5 separate regions of the Homo sapiens genome follow, and all the other regions are linked to region 2. Evidence: promoter capture Hi-C in human tissues and cell types (Jung and others, 2019). All regions are on one chromosome and are shown on one strand. The core of a region is centred on a gene start or on the middle of the fragment in contact, and the rest is flanking DNA. Distances in the headings are between cores, read along the strand shown.

Region 1 (2,700 bases), core at 168-2,667, 150 kb before region 2:
ACGAATAAACTGTTCTCAGGAACTGTGGCGACATCCAGTCAGTGGTCACCTCTTGTTCCTGGTGGACATCACTTAGCACCAGTGCCGGCAGTTTTATAAAACAGAGGATAACGTCGCGGGACTGGCCGGCCTCAGAATTGCTCAGGGTTTGGACTCATGGAAATCCAAGGCACCCTGCAGCTCAGCCATGGGAGTTCACCTCCAACTCTGAGGATCTGAGGGAGGGAGGGAGGCCCTCTCCGGGGACCAATATTTGCCTCCACGTGGCTAAGGCCAGTGATGCAGGCTGTGCGGTGTGTTGACGGACTCGGGGAAGGTGGAGGAAGGAGGCCTGGGGGAGGGGCTCCTCTTACCCGGAGTTGCATGGGTGGATTTCAGGTTGACGGGGGCGGGGCTGCATTTTTAGGTGTTTCTACTGATAAGACCAAGGGTAGTTGGGAAAAAGCCCAGCACGTCAACAGCTCGACAGAGAGCAGCTCCCTGAGGTCGCCACCAGCTTCCCGTGGATGTTGATGATCTCATGTCCTCAGTCAACCCCGGAACCACAGAAGAGCACAGCGGGAGACCTGGGGAAAGGCAGACTCCACCGGGAGGTCGGGAAGCACAGTTCTCAGCCCTGCCCGGGCCCCCGTCCATCCTGCTTTGGAAGAGCACCTGGACTCTAGGATGAGGAGACGAGGCAGCGTGGAGACTCACCGCCTCCGGAGGACAGGGAGGGAGGAGCCGGTCGCCGCAGGCACGGCCTGGACGTGCTGGGAGCCGCACTTGGTGTTGGCCGTTGGGCTGATGCTTGTCAGGAGCCCAGGACAAGCTCCGTGGCTTACCTGGGATGATCTCATGTTTCTCTGAGGTAAAGGTTCATGATGAGTTTTCCTGCACCATGAAATACGTCAAATAACAATTTCCACTTTCAATCCTCGAACGCACAACGCTATAAAAATATATAAAAACTACTTTGACAGGAGTAAAAAACGTCATGCTAAAAGGATTAAGAAGAGGTTTGTTGGTTGATGAAAGGACGTGTGGCTGTGGCGAGACCTGAAACACACCCCACGTGGGCGTGTGCACTTCGCCCACTTCATGCCAAGTGCCGGCTGCTTTGTCGGCTTCGTTCAGCGTCACCCAGAGAATAACTTCTCTTTACCTCCCATGGGGATTGTCTTCTAATTTGGAGAAGTTGGATATACCTCTATTAAGTGCAGAGCTACACAGTAATAAAAAACACACTCTAGGACATTTTGAGAAAAGCAAATGTTCCAGCAGAAGCATCTGGGCCGGGCGCGGTGGCTCATGCCTGTCATCCCAGCACTTTGGGAGGCCAAGGTGGGCGGATCCCTTGAGCCCAGGAATTGGAGACCAGCCTGGCCGACGTGGCAAAACCCCGTCTCTACTAAAAATACAAAAATTAGCTGGGCGTGGTGGCGCATGCCAGTAGTCCCAGCTGCTCTCGAGGCTGAGGAGGTGGGAGGATCGCTTGAGCCCAGGAGGTTGAGGCTGCAGTGAGCCAAGATCGCGCCACTGCACTCCAGCCCGGGCGACAGAGACCCTGTCTCAAAAAAAAAGAAAAAGCAGCGCCTGGCTGTGAGGATTCCCGAAGGCAGCACCACCCCTGAGCAGACCCGTCTGCCCCTCCGACCGTCATGCACCAGCCCCTCCCGGTGCCCTGTGTCGTCACATGATGCTTGTTGAGGAGCCCAGGCGTCCACCCCCGCGCCTCCTGGCATGACGCCGACCTCACTCCTTGGCCCCCGGAATTCCCACAGGTGGGAGGTGGTCACAGAAGCTTTGTCGATTCCGTTCTCTTTTTGGCAAGGACACTTCCAGGTGCCTCTGCACGGGCACTGACCCACAGGTGGGCACAGGGCCATGCTCCCAGCCTGGGCCTGACGGGCCGGGGTGCAACCACCGCCAGCATCTACCATGCTGTGAGTGGGCGGCGGTGACGCACCCACCTGGGAATGGCAGCGAGTGCCCGGAGTGCCGGATTCCCCCCGAGCTTTCACGTCTAAGGATTACGAGGAAGACCTGGACTACGTGCCTTTATGAGATGCCTCCTGTGGGTCCCTGAGGCCGTCAGGTGCCACCTCACCCCTGCGTGTCCTGCGGAAACTGTGACCTGTGACTCCGGGGCGGGGTGGCCTTGGGGGCACCAGCAAGTGAAGGGTGCACCAGGGCACTGGGTTGGGGACCTTGCCCAGGACAACAGGCAGGGCTTGTCCAAAAGCCCCTGGCCCTGTTCCAACCCCCAGGAGGGTTCGAGCCCTTTCGAGGGTCCCATGCTGTGTCCAGAGCAGCCATGCACCCACCTTCTCCACCACAACACAGCCACCCTCCTTCTCCAGAGTGGCCTTTTACAAAGCACAATTACCATTACCTCCTGAGTGAAACCTGTCCTCGGGGCGGAGACTGCCCCAGGCCTGGCCTCGTACACACACCCCTCCTGCCCGCCTCCCTCCCTCCAGCCCTGTTGGCACTGCCCCGTGGCAGCCTCCCGCAGCGGCCGCCTCCGGCTCTGCCTCCTCCAGGGTGCTGTGGCTCCTCCTCAAGGGAGGGCGGCTGGGGGAGGAGACGCCTCAGTACAGAAAAGCTCGCAGCTGTTGTTGGGTCTGATCCCACCTCTCCTGCTGTTTCCTGCCAGGACAGATGAGGAGTTAGCTCTCCACTTCCCACCATGCCTGCCCCTCCTTCACAATCTTTGTT
Region 2 (2,700 bases), core at 181-2,680:
TACGGGGAGCCTTGGCCAGCACGTGCCCCTAGACAGTGCTGGCCAGGCCGAGGGAGAACTTCTGGAGCCAAGGTAACCCCTAAAGGATTCTGGTCTTGTGAGGAGGGGCCTGGCTTCCCCCTGGGAGCTGCTGGCTTGGAAGCAGGAGGCATTGCCCAGGTGAGAGTTCGGCATGGACCCAGGGGAGTGGCACACGGTGCCCGCCGTCAGCTGTGCTCAGGAGCAGCAGGCAGGAGCCCTGGACTCATGGCTACCATGTGGCTGCCACACTCAGGCACACTTAGGCACATACACTCACACTCAGGCACACTTAGACACACACATTCACACTCAACCTCAGACGCAGACACACACCACACACTCACAGATGCACACAGTCTCAGACACAGACACACACCACACACAGATACACACACCACAGACTCAAACTCAGTCTCAGACACAGACACACACCACACACTCAGATGCACACACCACACACACTCAGTCTCAGACACACACACACACCACATTTGCAAACCTGCTCATCAGAAGAGGGACCTCGCCCCCAGCCGCTCCGCCACCTTCCAGGACAGCTCTGAAGGGAGCCCTGTCCCGGAGCCCAGGGACCTCTCCCCAACCCGGCTGCGCCTCACCTCAAGGAGGAACCCCGGCCCTGGCTGGGGGACTGTGACCAGGGTGGGGAGTGGGGACCCCAGACAGAGCCCTACCAGGGACCCCTGTCACTCTGTCCCCGGCTGGGCTCAGGTGGGGACCTCACGGTGGTCCCAGGGCCCAGCACCAAGCCCACCTGTGGTTTCCAGCGGGAAAGGGGTGGCAGGGGTGGCTCGCCGCATGCCCAGGCTCTGCCCCAACCTCCGCGCCCAGGCTCTGCTGTCCCTGCCCTCCCGGCTCCCCACCCTCAGGCCCCAGGAGCGGCAGTTTCTGCAGGAGCTCCTGACCCGGGGCCTCTCGCGGGAGGCCTGAGCAAGCCGGACACAGGACACGGGGTAGGGGAGGGGTCGGGGGGCTGATGGGGGGAACCCTGCACCCCCCAGGGCAGCTGCTACCAAGGGGCGAGTCCCAGGGCCCCCGTCGGCCCTGCGTGCGGGGCGCGGTCCCCAACACCCAGGGCCCCGGAGGCGGACACAGCCCCAGCCAGGTCGTCCGGGAAATGGGGCGGGGGCGACGGGCGGCCGGGCCCGGGACGCGAAGTCCGAGCAGCAGCGGGCAGGGGCTGGCGGGGGAGCTCGGCCCGGGCTGCAGGGGGGTCCCCACCCTCTCCACCTCCTCCAGCCTCCCGCCCTCGAGGGTCCCCGCTTCCCTCCCATCCCCCTCCCGTGCCCCCGGCCCCCTCCTCCCATCCGCGGGGCCGCAGCGCTTCCTGGCGGCGGGGCGGGTCAGGCCGGCGGGGCGGGGTATAAAGGGGGCGGCGCCGGCCGCGGTTCCCTCCCTGCTGCTTACTCGGCGCCCGCGCCTCGGGCCGTCGGGAGCGGAGCCTCCTCGGGACCAGGTGAGCGCCTCCCGGACCCCGCACCCTGGAAGCCGCTCGGCCCGCGGGGGGTGACCCCGAGTCCTGGGAAGGCGGCGGCGGCGGCTCCGTCCCTCGGGTCCCCGGGAAGGGGGACTCCAGCCCCAGGGACGGCGGGGGGCTCGGCGGGTTCGGGGCTCCTCCTCGCGGGGCTGGGGCCGCGCCTGCCCCTGTGGCTCCGCGTCTCTGGGTCCGACCCTCGGGCGCGCGACTTGGGGCCACCTCCCCGCGGCCTCCTCTGGGGCGGAGCCGGCCTGGGCGGGGTGGGGGGGTCCCTGTCTGCGCCCGAGCTCGGTGCTGGGACCCCCGCTCCCGAGACGACCCCGGCACCGCACGCCCCGCCAGGCCCCGCGTCTGCGAGCGGTTCGGGTCCGGCTCCGGCCCGCGGGGAAGACGCCCCGGCTGGCTGGGACCTCCGGGGGCGCAGGGCCTCTCCCCGGGCCGGACGGAAGGGGCGGCGGGGCGGGGGGAGGAGGGGCTTTCGGTGCCCGAGGGCGGGACTGGGCGGGGAGGGGACGCGGGTGGCCCCGACGCCCCATCGCTGCGCCCCTCCCGGCCTGGAGCCCACCAGGGCCCCGCCAGGCCCAGGAGAAGCTGCAGACGGAGGCGGCTCCCCAGGGCGGCGGGACCCGGGCTGACAGCGACCCGCAGCCCCTGCCGGGCCGCCCACACCCGCCCTGGGACTCCGCCGGGGCGCTGGTGGAACCGCTGGGCCTGGGTCTCCACTGCTGGCAACCGAACGGATCGGCCCTCTGTGGAGCCGCAGGTGTGCGGGCGAGCGGCGCCCATCCGGGCTGTGCCAGCAGAACCCCGGTGCCCGCGCCTAGGACGCCCCTGGAGAAGGGACCTTCCCTTTGGGGTCGGAACCCAGAAAGGAGGGGCCTGCGATCCGCGGAGCTCCTTGTTCTTGGGATAACACAGCTCTGGCTTGGAGGCCCCCTTGCACTTCGACTCTGGTGATTATTTCAAGAAAGGCCAGACCGGGCACGGTGGCTCACGCCTGTAATCCCAACACTTGGGGAGGCCGAGGCGGGCAGATCACCTGAGGTCAGGAGTTCGAGACCAGCCTGGCCAACAGGGTGAAACCCCGTCTCTACTAAAAATACAAAAAAAAATTAGCCGGGCGTGGTGGCAGGCACCTGTAATCCCAGCTAATCGGGAGGCTGAGGCAGGAGAAAATCACTTGAACC
Region 3 (2,700 bases), core at 181-2,680, 220 kb before region 2:
GGTCTATTTTGCCCAGGCTGGTCTTGAACTCCTAGACTCCAGTGACCTGCCTACCTCAGGCAACAGCCTAGGCAACATAGAGAGACCCCATCTCTATAAAGAATTTAAAATCACTCTCAGCAATTTTCAAGTATACATTGTTCTTACCCATAGTCACTGTGCCACACAGCAGCTCCCCAGCCTGTTTGACTCCCGTCTAACTGAACTTGTGCCAGTGACCAACAGCTCCCATTTCCCCCAACCCCCCGCAGTCCCCGACAGCCACCTCCCACCCTCTGCTTCTGTGAGATGCACTTTTTTAGATTCCACATGTGAGATCATGCAGTATTTGTCTTTCTGTGCCCAGTTCATTTTACTTGTTATAATGTCCTCCAGGTTCATCCGCAGTGACACAGATGACATGGCTTCTTTCTGTGTGTATGTCTGTGTGTGACATTTTCTTTATCCGTTCGTCTCTCTATGAACACTTAGGCTGATTCCACCATATCTAGGCTGTTGTGAGTTGTGCCACAATCAACACGGGCCTGCATGTGTCTCCTCACTATAGTGACTTTGGGTATATGCCCTGAAGTGAGACTGCTGGATCCTGTGGTGGTTCTATTTCTAGTTTTTTGAGGAACTTCCGTACCGTTCTCCATAATGACTGTACTAAGTTTCCCATCAGCACTGTACAAGGGTTCCCTTTTGTCCACCTCCTCACCAACACTTAGCTTTTGTCTTTTTGATAATAGCCATTCTAACAGGTATGAGCCGATATCCCATTGTGGTTTGAATTTGCATTTTTCTGGTGATTAGTGATGTTGTGCACTTTTTCATATACCTGTTAGCCATTTGTATGTCTCCTTCTGAGAAGCTTCCATTCCGTTTCTTTGCCATTTTTTTAAAATCTGGTATTTGTTTTCTTGCTATTGAGTTGTTTGAGTTCCTTACACATTTTGAGTATTAACTCCTTATCAGATGTTGTATGGTTTGCAGTTTTTTTTCCAGTTCCCTAGGTTGTCTCTTCACTCTGTTGTTTGCTGTGCAGAAGCTTTTCAGTTTGATATAATCCCATTTCTCTACTTTCTGCTTTTGTTGCCTGTACTTTGAGGGCCATATTTAAAAAAAAATCATTAACTAAACCAGTGTCGTGGAATTTTTCCCTGTGTTTTTTCTTAGTGGTTTTGCAGTTGCAGATCTTACATTTAAGTCTTTAACCCATTTTGAGTTGATTTTTATAGATGGTGTGAGATGAGGGTCTAATTTCATTCTTCTGCACAGGGACATCCAGTTTCCCCAACACCGTTTATTGAAGAAACTGTCCTTCCCCGTGTGTGTTCCTGGTGTCTTTATTGTAGATGGATTGGCTGCAGCTGCGGGGTTTCCTGCCAGGCTCTCCGCTCTCCTCCACCGGCCTGCATGTCGTTCTTACACCAGCGCCAAGTTCTGGTCTTTAGTATTTCATTCCTCTGCTTACTTGGATTTATTTTGTTCTTCTTTTATTAGATTCTTAAAATGAGTGCTTAGATTATTGATTGGAAGCTTTTCTCTCTTCAAATGTGTGTGTTTCGTGCCACAGGTTTCCCTCTCAGCACTGCTGTAGTTGTGTCCTGCGATTTTTGATATGCTGTGTTTTTATTTTCATTCAGGTCAATGTGTTTTTTGATGTTCCTTGAGATTCCCTCTTTGACCCTTGGATTGTTCATATATGTGTTTCATTTCCAAGTGCTTGGAACTTTTCTTGTTATCTTTCCATGATTGATTCTGGTTTGAGTCAGCTGTGGTCAGAGAACATACACTACGGTTTCAATTCTGTTAAATTTGCTGAGGTTTCTTTTATGGCCAAGGGTATGGTCTATCCTGGTATAGATTCTGTACATGCAGGAAGAGAGTGTGGATTCTGCTGATGCTGGACAGAGTGTTCCGGAAGTGTTCGTTAGGCCCCGTTGGTTGATGGTGTTGAGTCCTTCCAAATCCTTTGCTAATTCTCTGCCCAGTGGTTCTTTCAGTTGTTGACAGTAATAAAGTCTTCAGCTGTCGTTGTGGATTTTTATATTTTTCTTTTCACTACTATTAGTTTCTGCTTCACATATTTTACAGCTCTGTTATTTGATTCATACACATTTAGGATTGCTATTGCTTATTTAGACTCTTTTATCATTATGTAATGTCCTTCTCTGTCTCTGATCATTTTCATTGCTCTGACGTCTATTTTTTCCGATATTAATATAGCCATTCCTGCTTTCTTTTGATTAATGGTTGCACGATACGCCTTTTCCCATTAGTTTATCTTCAGTTTGCTTATATTGTTCTATTTGAAGTGAGTTTTCTGTAGACAGCATATGATGGGGTCATATTTTTAAATCCACTCTGCCCATCTGTGCTTCAATTGGTGTATTTGGACCATTTATACTTAAAGTTATTACGGTATTGAGATGTTAGGGCTTAAATCTGCCATTTCACCTTTTATTTATCTTTTGTATTTATTTATTTTGAGATAGGGCCCTACTCTGTCATCCAGGCTGGAGTGCAGTAGTGTGATCATGGCTCACTGCAGCCTCTTCTGGGCTGAAGTGATCCCCCCACCCCAGCCTCTCAAGCAGCTGGGACCACAGGCATGCACCACCATGCCCAGCCAATTTATTTTTATATTTTGTAGAGACTAGGTATTCCTGTGTTGCCCAGGCTGGCCTTGAACTCCTGGGCTCAAGTGATCCTCCC
Region 4 (2,700 bases), core at 149-2,648, 250 kb before region 2:
AGAAGGGTGCTTGGTACTGCTGGGTGGGAGTGGAAGCCGAGGCTCTCAGCTCAGCCCCTCTGACCGGGCAGGGTGCTGTGTGCGTCCTGTCCTGTGCATGGAGCAGGGCAGGTATTCTCAGATGCTTTCTGACCTAATAGGTTCCTCCTTTCCCATCCCTTTCCCTAGAGAGAATTTTCTTGAGACTGTTTTTTTCCAGTGTGTATCCTTTGGCATTTTTCAGTTGCTTTTCCAGTGCCCTGTCTGAAATATAGAGGAGGAAGCACAAACAAAACGAACAAACAAATAAGAAACCCAAAGAATAGCGAACTCACCGCTGTGTCATTCTCCAAATCCCAAGGGCCCAGCCAGTCCCCCTTCTTCCCTCCAGCTTTCAGGGTTCTCTTCTGTTTGTTCCACATGTAATGTCCAGAGTTGTTGGCTGTGCTCAGCAGGAAGAATAGGGAGAGAGGTGTCTATTCCATCCTGTCCAGAACCAGAAGGCATGGCTTCCTTTACGTGACTACTATCCCCTGTGCCTTCGCAGTTGTTTTTCTTGATTAATCTCATCAGAGGGTTGTATATTATTTAGACTTTAAGAACCAAATTTTATATTTACTGATCTTCTCAGTTGCCTTTGTTTCTTTGCTTAACTTCTGAACTTTTCTTTATTATTACCTTTCCACTTTCTGTGGATACTTTCTGTTCTTTTTCTAACTTTTTAAATGGGATTCGTGACTCACTAATTTTGTGTTTCTTTACTCCTTTTAAAAGCTATAAACTTTACTGTGAGTTCTGTTGCAGCTGTTTGCTACAAATTTTGGCATGCAATAATTTTATTATTGTTGAGGTCTGTTTTCTGATCTCATCTATTTCTTATCTGGAAACATTTAAAAAGTGTTTTGTCCAAGGGAATTGTAAAGTTATCTTTTGCTAATGATATTTAATTGCCTACTGAGTAGGAGATATGTTCTGTGGACTCCATGTTTTCAACATTTGTTGAAACCTGCAATATGAACTAAAACGTTATCAATTTTTGTTTTGTTCTCTGAGAGCCTTAGGAGAATGTGTTACCTCTGCTTGTCAGGTACAGGGTTTTATATACACACAGACACACATACGCACTATCATGTTGTTTGTGCTGTTAATATATTCTGCATCTTTATTACTTTTGTGGGGTATACTTGTGTGAACTGTAAAGGAGAGAGGTATGTTGGCATCTCCCACCAGTTGGGCGATTTGGGGCCTGTGACCTCTGACCTCACTGCTCCTTCTTGTAGCATTCTTCCTCCATTAATGCTCGTCTCTCTCCTTGACCTTCTTTCAGTCTTTCTTCTCAGTGTTTCTACCCAAAATTGCAGGCCCCAGCTCCAGCAGTCTGGTTGCGGACAAGGCCGTGCTTGTTTTTCATTGGGCTGGTCTGTCCAGCTCCAAGGCTGCCCTTTGAGCCGGACGATTGACCCACTGCATTAGGAAATGCTTTGCCGTCTTGGTGAGAGCCCCACTTTAGGGAGGTCTTGCACACTGCTGCATGGAGCATAGACACGTTGGGTGGGAGGTGCCCCAGCACCTAAGGACTCTTATGATTGGGTGGCAGGGGTGGGTGGTGCTGCCCTGCCCTCCAGAGCCCTTCACATGGTCCAGATGTCACCCAGCGCAAGGTGAGGGAGCCCTGGGGTCACATTCTCCACCCTCCCTCCAGCATTGTTGCAGCCGCAGGACACCTGCCAGGGTAGAATTCAGCGTGGCTGGAGGATTTTGTGTGGCAGAAGTAATGGAGATGGTAGGCAGGCTGGTCTCCCCGCTCCTCTGTGAGCACTGTGTGTTGGTGCTCCCTGCCAATGGTGCTCCCCGCGGCATGGTTCCACGCGCACCACAAGGGCAGCGTGGCTTCCTCATCTTAGATGTGACAGAATGGAGATAGTTCTGGGTGTTAGCCCACAAAAGTGGCAACGTTAGGGTCCAAACTCTGGTACATATGAAACCATGGTTCTTCTTTCTTCCTCTCCAGGCAGATTCATAAGAAGAAGACTGGGTCTGAGTTTATATACATATATATAAAGTTATATATAAACTTCATATACGTATATAAAGTTATAACTTTATATACGTATATGAAGTTTATATACGTATATAAAGTTTATATATATGCTTTATTTATATATATAGTTTACATATATATATGCTTTATTTAAGGTTGAACAAAATTTTGCATTCATCAGAAGCTTCCTTTTATGAATTCTTAGACTTTTTTACTGGGTACCCCAGAGATTTAAGGTATCAGCTTGAATATCTTCTAAACTGTTCTCCCTAAAAGGACCATACCTGGATTCTCAAGGAGTCCACCTCCGGAGGGGTCACTGACAGTTCTGCTCTCTTATGCCTTTTGTTCATCTTAACCAGCCTTGGTTAGCAAGGGGCACCTGCCACCAGATGATCTCTTACCAAGTCATGGTTTCCTGTCTGAAGCGGTTTCCCTGATGCTGAGAGGCATGAGGAGAATGTTACAGAGAGACAGCATGCTGCCTTGTGATTGTCTGAGGTTTGAAACCTTCTGGTGAAGCTGAAACCATTTCTTAAGAGCCTGGCTAATGCTGTGAGCTGCTTAAGCACCCGTGTGCACATGTGTGTAAGTGTGTGCCTTTGCCATGTGTATGCATGTGAGCTGCTTAAGCACCTGTGTCCACACGTGTGAGTGTGTGCCTTCACCTGTGTATGTGT
Region 5 (2,700 bases), core at 1-2,500, 140 kb after region 2:
TTTGTATTCTATCATGAACAATTTCCAGTGTCAGTCATTTTTCACCCAGGCTGGAACGCAGTGGTATGATCGGAGCTTACTGCAGCCTCAAACTCCTGGGCTCAAGTGATCCTACCAGCTCAGCCTCCTGAGTAGCTGGGACAACAGGCATGTAGCACCATGCCTGGCTAATTATGTACTGTAGAGATGAGATCTCTTTATGTTGCCCAGGCTGGACTCAAGCTCCTGGACTTAAGCGATCCTCCCTCATCAGCCTCCCAAAGTGCTGGGATTACAGGCATGAGCCACCACGCCCAGCCAGTCATTTTTAGAAAATATCATCGTCAAGGGCTGTGAATTATTCTATCACATGAATGTGTTATAATTGTTTAATCAGACTCCCATCTTCGGATATTTATTCTGTTTCGACTTTCATACAATAATGCTACAGTAAACATTTTTATACATTAATTTTTGGGGAATATCTGGTAGGTCAGAATTCTTTAGGTTAGAATTGGTAATTCAAAGGGTATGAATATTTTTAAAGTATTTGCCAAACTGATGAATGGAAACAGTACATCATTTTAATTTGCTTTTCTCCTCTATTGAAGGACTTCCTAAAGCCAGTCCAGGAGCACAGTTTTTACCTGTTCAGTGGCACATATCTGTGATTGAAACTCTGTTTTTGCATCTTTAACCACTGAAGGAAGAATGGTAAGGTAAAAAGACCTTAGGCTTTGGAGCCAGTTGGATCTGGCTTTGAAAAGCAACCTGACCACTCACTACTTGAACACTCTTGGGTGAGGCTCTTGACTTCTGGGAGCTTACCTTCCTCATTCATTAGTTTTCCTCAGGAAAAATTAATCCCAGAAGAGAGGTCTGGGTAATGCCAAAGCTCAGACAATATGTGCTCCAACAGAAGCTGCTGTCATCACCTTAATGCCCTTAATTACACATCAGCACACAGTTACAGGTCTTATTCAGTTCTTAAGAATATTTCAATTCTATTCTTCATTTATTTCGTAGGCAGAAACTCAAAATCAGTTGGGTCTCTTTAACAATGATATGGATAAAGTTTAAGAAAAGGTCTAATTTGAGCTAATAATTTGTCGGTCATCAAAACATCATAGGATAAATCGTGATATTACTTTTTTCCCCAGCCATTCTCTCAATCTTTAATTCTTATGTAAATGCCAAATGTATACGTTCTTCTCACCTGTGGGCTAGTAGTTACAGATGTTTTCATCACAGGTTCAATAGTGTGAGAAAGAGACACTAGAGTCTGAGGAAGATAGAGGGGAAGGGAAGTTAAATCCGTAAATGCTCCTGAGTCTTCAGACAACCATTGCTGAAGCTGATCTTCAAACCTGAAACAATATGTAATAAATTCAAAAATATTTGAGCATTAGGAAGTTAACTATTGTTCATTAATCTTCTATATATACTTAAAAACTTTTTAAGCCTTTGCTTTTTTAAAATTTTATATAATTTTTTTTTTTTTTTTTTTGAGACAGAGTCTCACTCTGTTGCCCAGGCTGGAGTGCAGTGGCATAATCTCGGGTCAGTGCAACCTCTGCCTCCCAGGTTCAAGTGATTCTCCTGCGTCAGCCTCCTGAGTAGCTGGGATTATAGGCAAGTGCCACTGTGCCCAGCTAATTTTTTGTACTTTTAGTAGAGATGGGGTTTCACCATATTGCCCAAGCTGGTCTTGAACTCCTGACCTCAGGTGATCCACCCACCTCGGCCTCCCAAAGTGCTGGGATTACAGGAGTGAGCCACTGTGCTTGGCCAATTTTATTATTATTTTTTTTTGACAAGGTCTCGCTCTGTTGGCCAGGCCGGAGTGCAGTGTTACAATCTTGGCTCACTGCAACCTTGACCTCCCAAGCTCAAATGATCTCACCTCAGCCTCCCAAATACCTGGGACTAGAGGCGCATGCCACCCAGCTAATTTTTGTATTTTTTTGTAGAAACGGGATTTTGCTGTATTGTCAGGCTAGTCTACAACTCCTGAACTCAAGTGATGTGCACACCTCAGCCTCCCAAAGTGCTGGGATTATAGGCATGAGTCACCACACCCAGCCTTAAGCCTTTGCTTTTTACTAAGAATATAACTAAGTTATGACATCAACTGAGAAGCAGAAATGTACTTATTAAAAATTTAACAACTTCCTATGATAAAGCTTAATTTAAAAAAAAAAACTAGGCTGGGCTCGGTGGCTCATGCCTGTAATCCCAACACTTTGGGAGGCCGAGGCGGGCAGATCACCTGAGGTCAGGAGTTCAAGATCAGCCTGATCAACATGGTGAAACCCCGTCTCTACTAAAAATACAAAAATTAGCCAGGCATGGTGACACGTGCCTGTAATCCCAGCTACTTGGGAGGCTGAGGCAGGAGAACTGCCTGAACCCGGGAGGCGGAGGTTGCAGTGAGCCAGATCACGCCATTGCACTCCAGCCAGGGCAACAAGAGCAAAACTCCATCTCAAAAAAAAAAAAAAAAAAATTAGAGAAACCACTTCCCTTTAATTTATAAATCCAATTCCAATTTATATTTAATGAAAAAGGTGGTATTAATCCAAAAACAACTGCTTCGATGTGTTACTTAACATTACTTGTAATTGTCTTGTTTGGCTTATCTTATTTAATTTACTTTGGTTTTATGCATCTATAATTAATTCTTCTGACATTTTCCAAATGAGTGGATTGCTGCTTATAGCT

What was found. Contacts are between HindIII fragments. The study calls those that stand out against the background at their distance.
Region 1: a fragment that was not itself captured here is called in contact with the fragment with the promoter of COL6A2 in region 2 in 2 of the 25 tissues and cell types used here (mesenchymal stem cells and mesendoderm cells).
Region 3: a fragment that was not itself captured here is called in contact with the fragment with the promoter of COL6A2 in region 2 in 3 of the 25 tissues and cell types used here (mesenchymal stem cells, spleen and thymus).
Region 4: a fragment that was not itself captured here is called in contact with the fragment with the promoter of COL6A2 in region 2 in 2 of the 25 tissues and cell types used here (liver and lymphoblastoid cells).
Region 5: a contact is called between a fragment that was not itself captured here and the fragment with the promoter of COL6A2 in region 2, in 2 of the 25 tissues and cell types used here (heart left ventricle and mesenchymal stem cells).

Annotation. Positions count from the first base shown.
Region 1 is chr21:45,948,354-45,951,053 of GRCh38, forward strand. No RefSeq gene overlaps it. Among named protein-coding and RNA genes, the nearest start is that of COL6A1, 32 kb to the right of the region's middle. The HindIII fragment of the contact is 4,709 bases long and covers 1-2,700 here.
Region 2 is chr21:46,096,682-46,099,381 of GRCh38, forward strand. It overlaps COL6A2 (collagen type VI alpha 2 chain), which reads left to right and starts at 1,431. Exons shown (of 28, transcript NM_001849.4): 1 at 1,431-1,492. COL6A2-DT (COL6A2 divergent transcript) reads right to left here and starts at 964. Exons shown (of 2, transcript NR_186433.1): 1 at 791-964. RefSeq lists an enhancer at 1,254-1,548. The HindIII fragment of the contact is 26,496 bases long and covers 1-2,700 here.
Region 3 is chr21:45,881,483-45,884,182 of GRCh38, forward strand. The region is part of intron 5 of PCBP3 (poly(rC) binding protein 3); the gene reads left to right. Among named protein-coding and RNA genes, the nearest start is that of PCBP3-AS1, 46 kb to the left of the region's middle. The HindIII fragment of the contact is 4,995 bases long and covers 1-2,700 here.
Region 4 is chr21:45,842,779-45,845,478 of GRCh38, forward strand. All of the region lies in intron 4 of PCBP3 (poly(rC) binding protein 3), which reads left to right. Among named protein-coding and RNA genes, the nearest start is that of PCBP3-AS1, 7.7 kb to the left of the region's middle. The HindIII fragment of the contact is 8,875 bases long and covers 1-2,700 here.
Region 5 is chr21:46,235,634-46,238,333 of GRCh38, forward strand. It overlaps MCM3AP (minichromosome maintenance complex component 3 associated protein), which reads right to left. Exons shown (of 28, transcript NM_003906.5): 27 at 1,196-1,346. The region is part of intron 2 of MCM3AP-AS1 (MCM3AP antisense RNA 1); the gene reads left to right. Among named protein-coding and RNA genes, the nearest start is that of MCM3AP-AS1, 7.8 kb to the left of the region's middle. The HindIII fragment of the contact is 5,213 bases long and covers 1-2,700 here.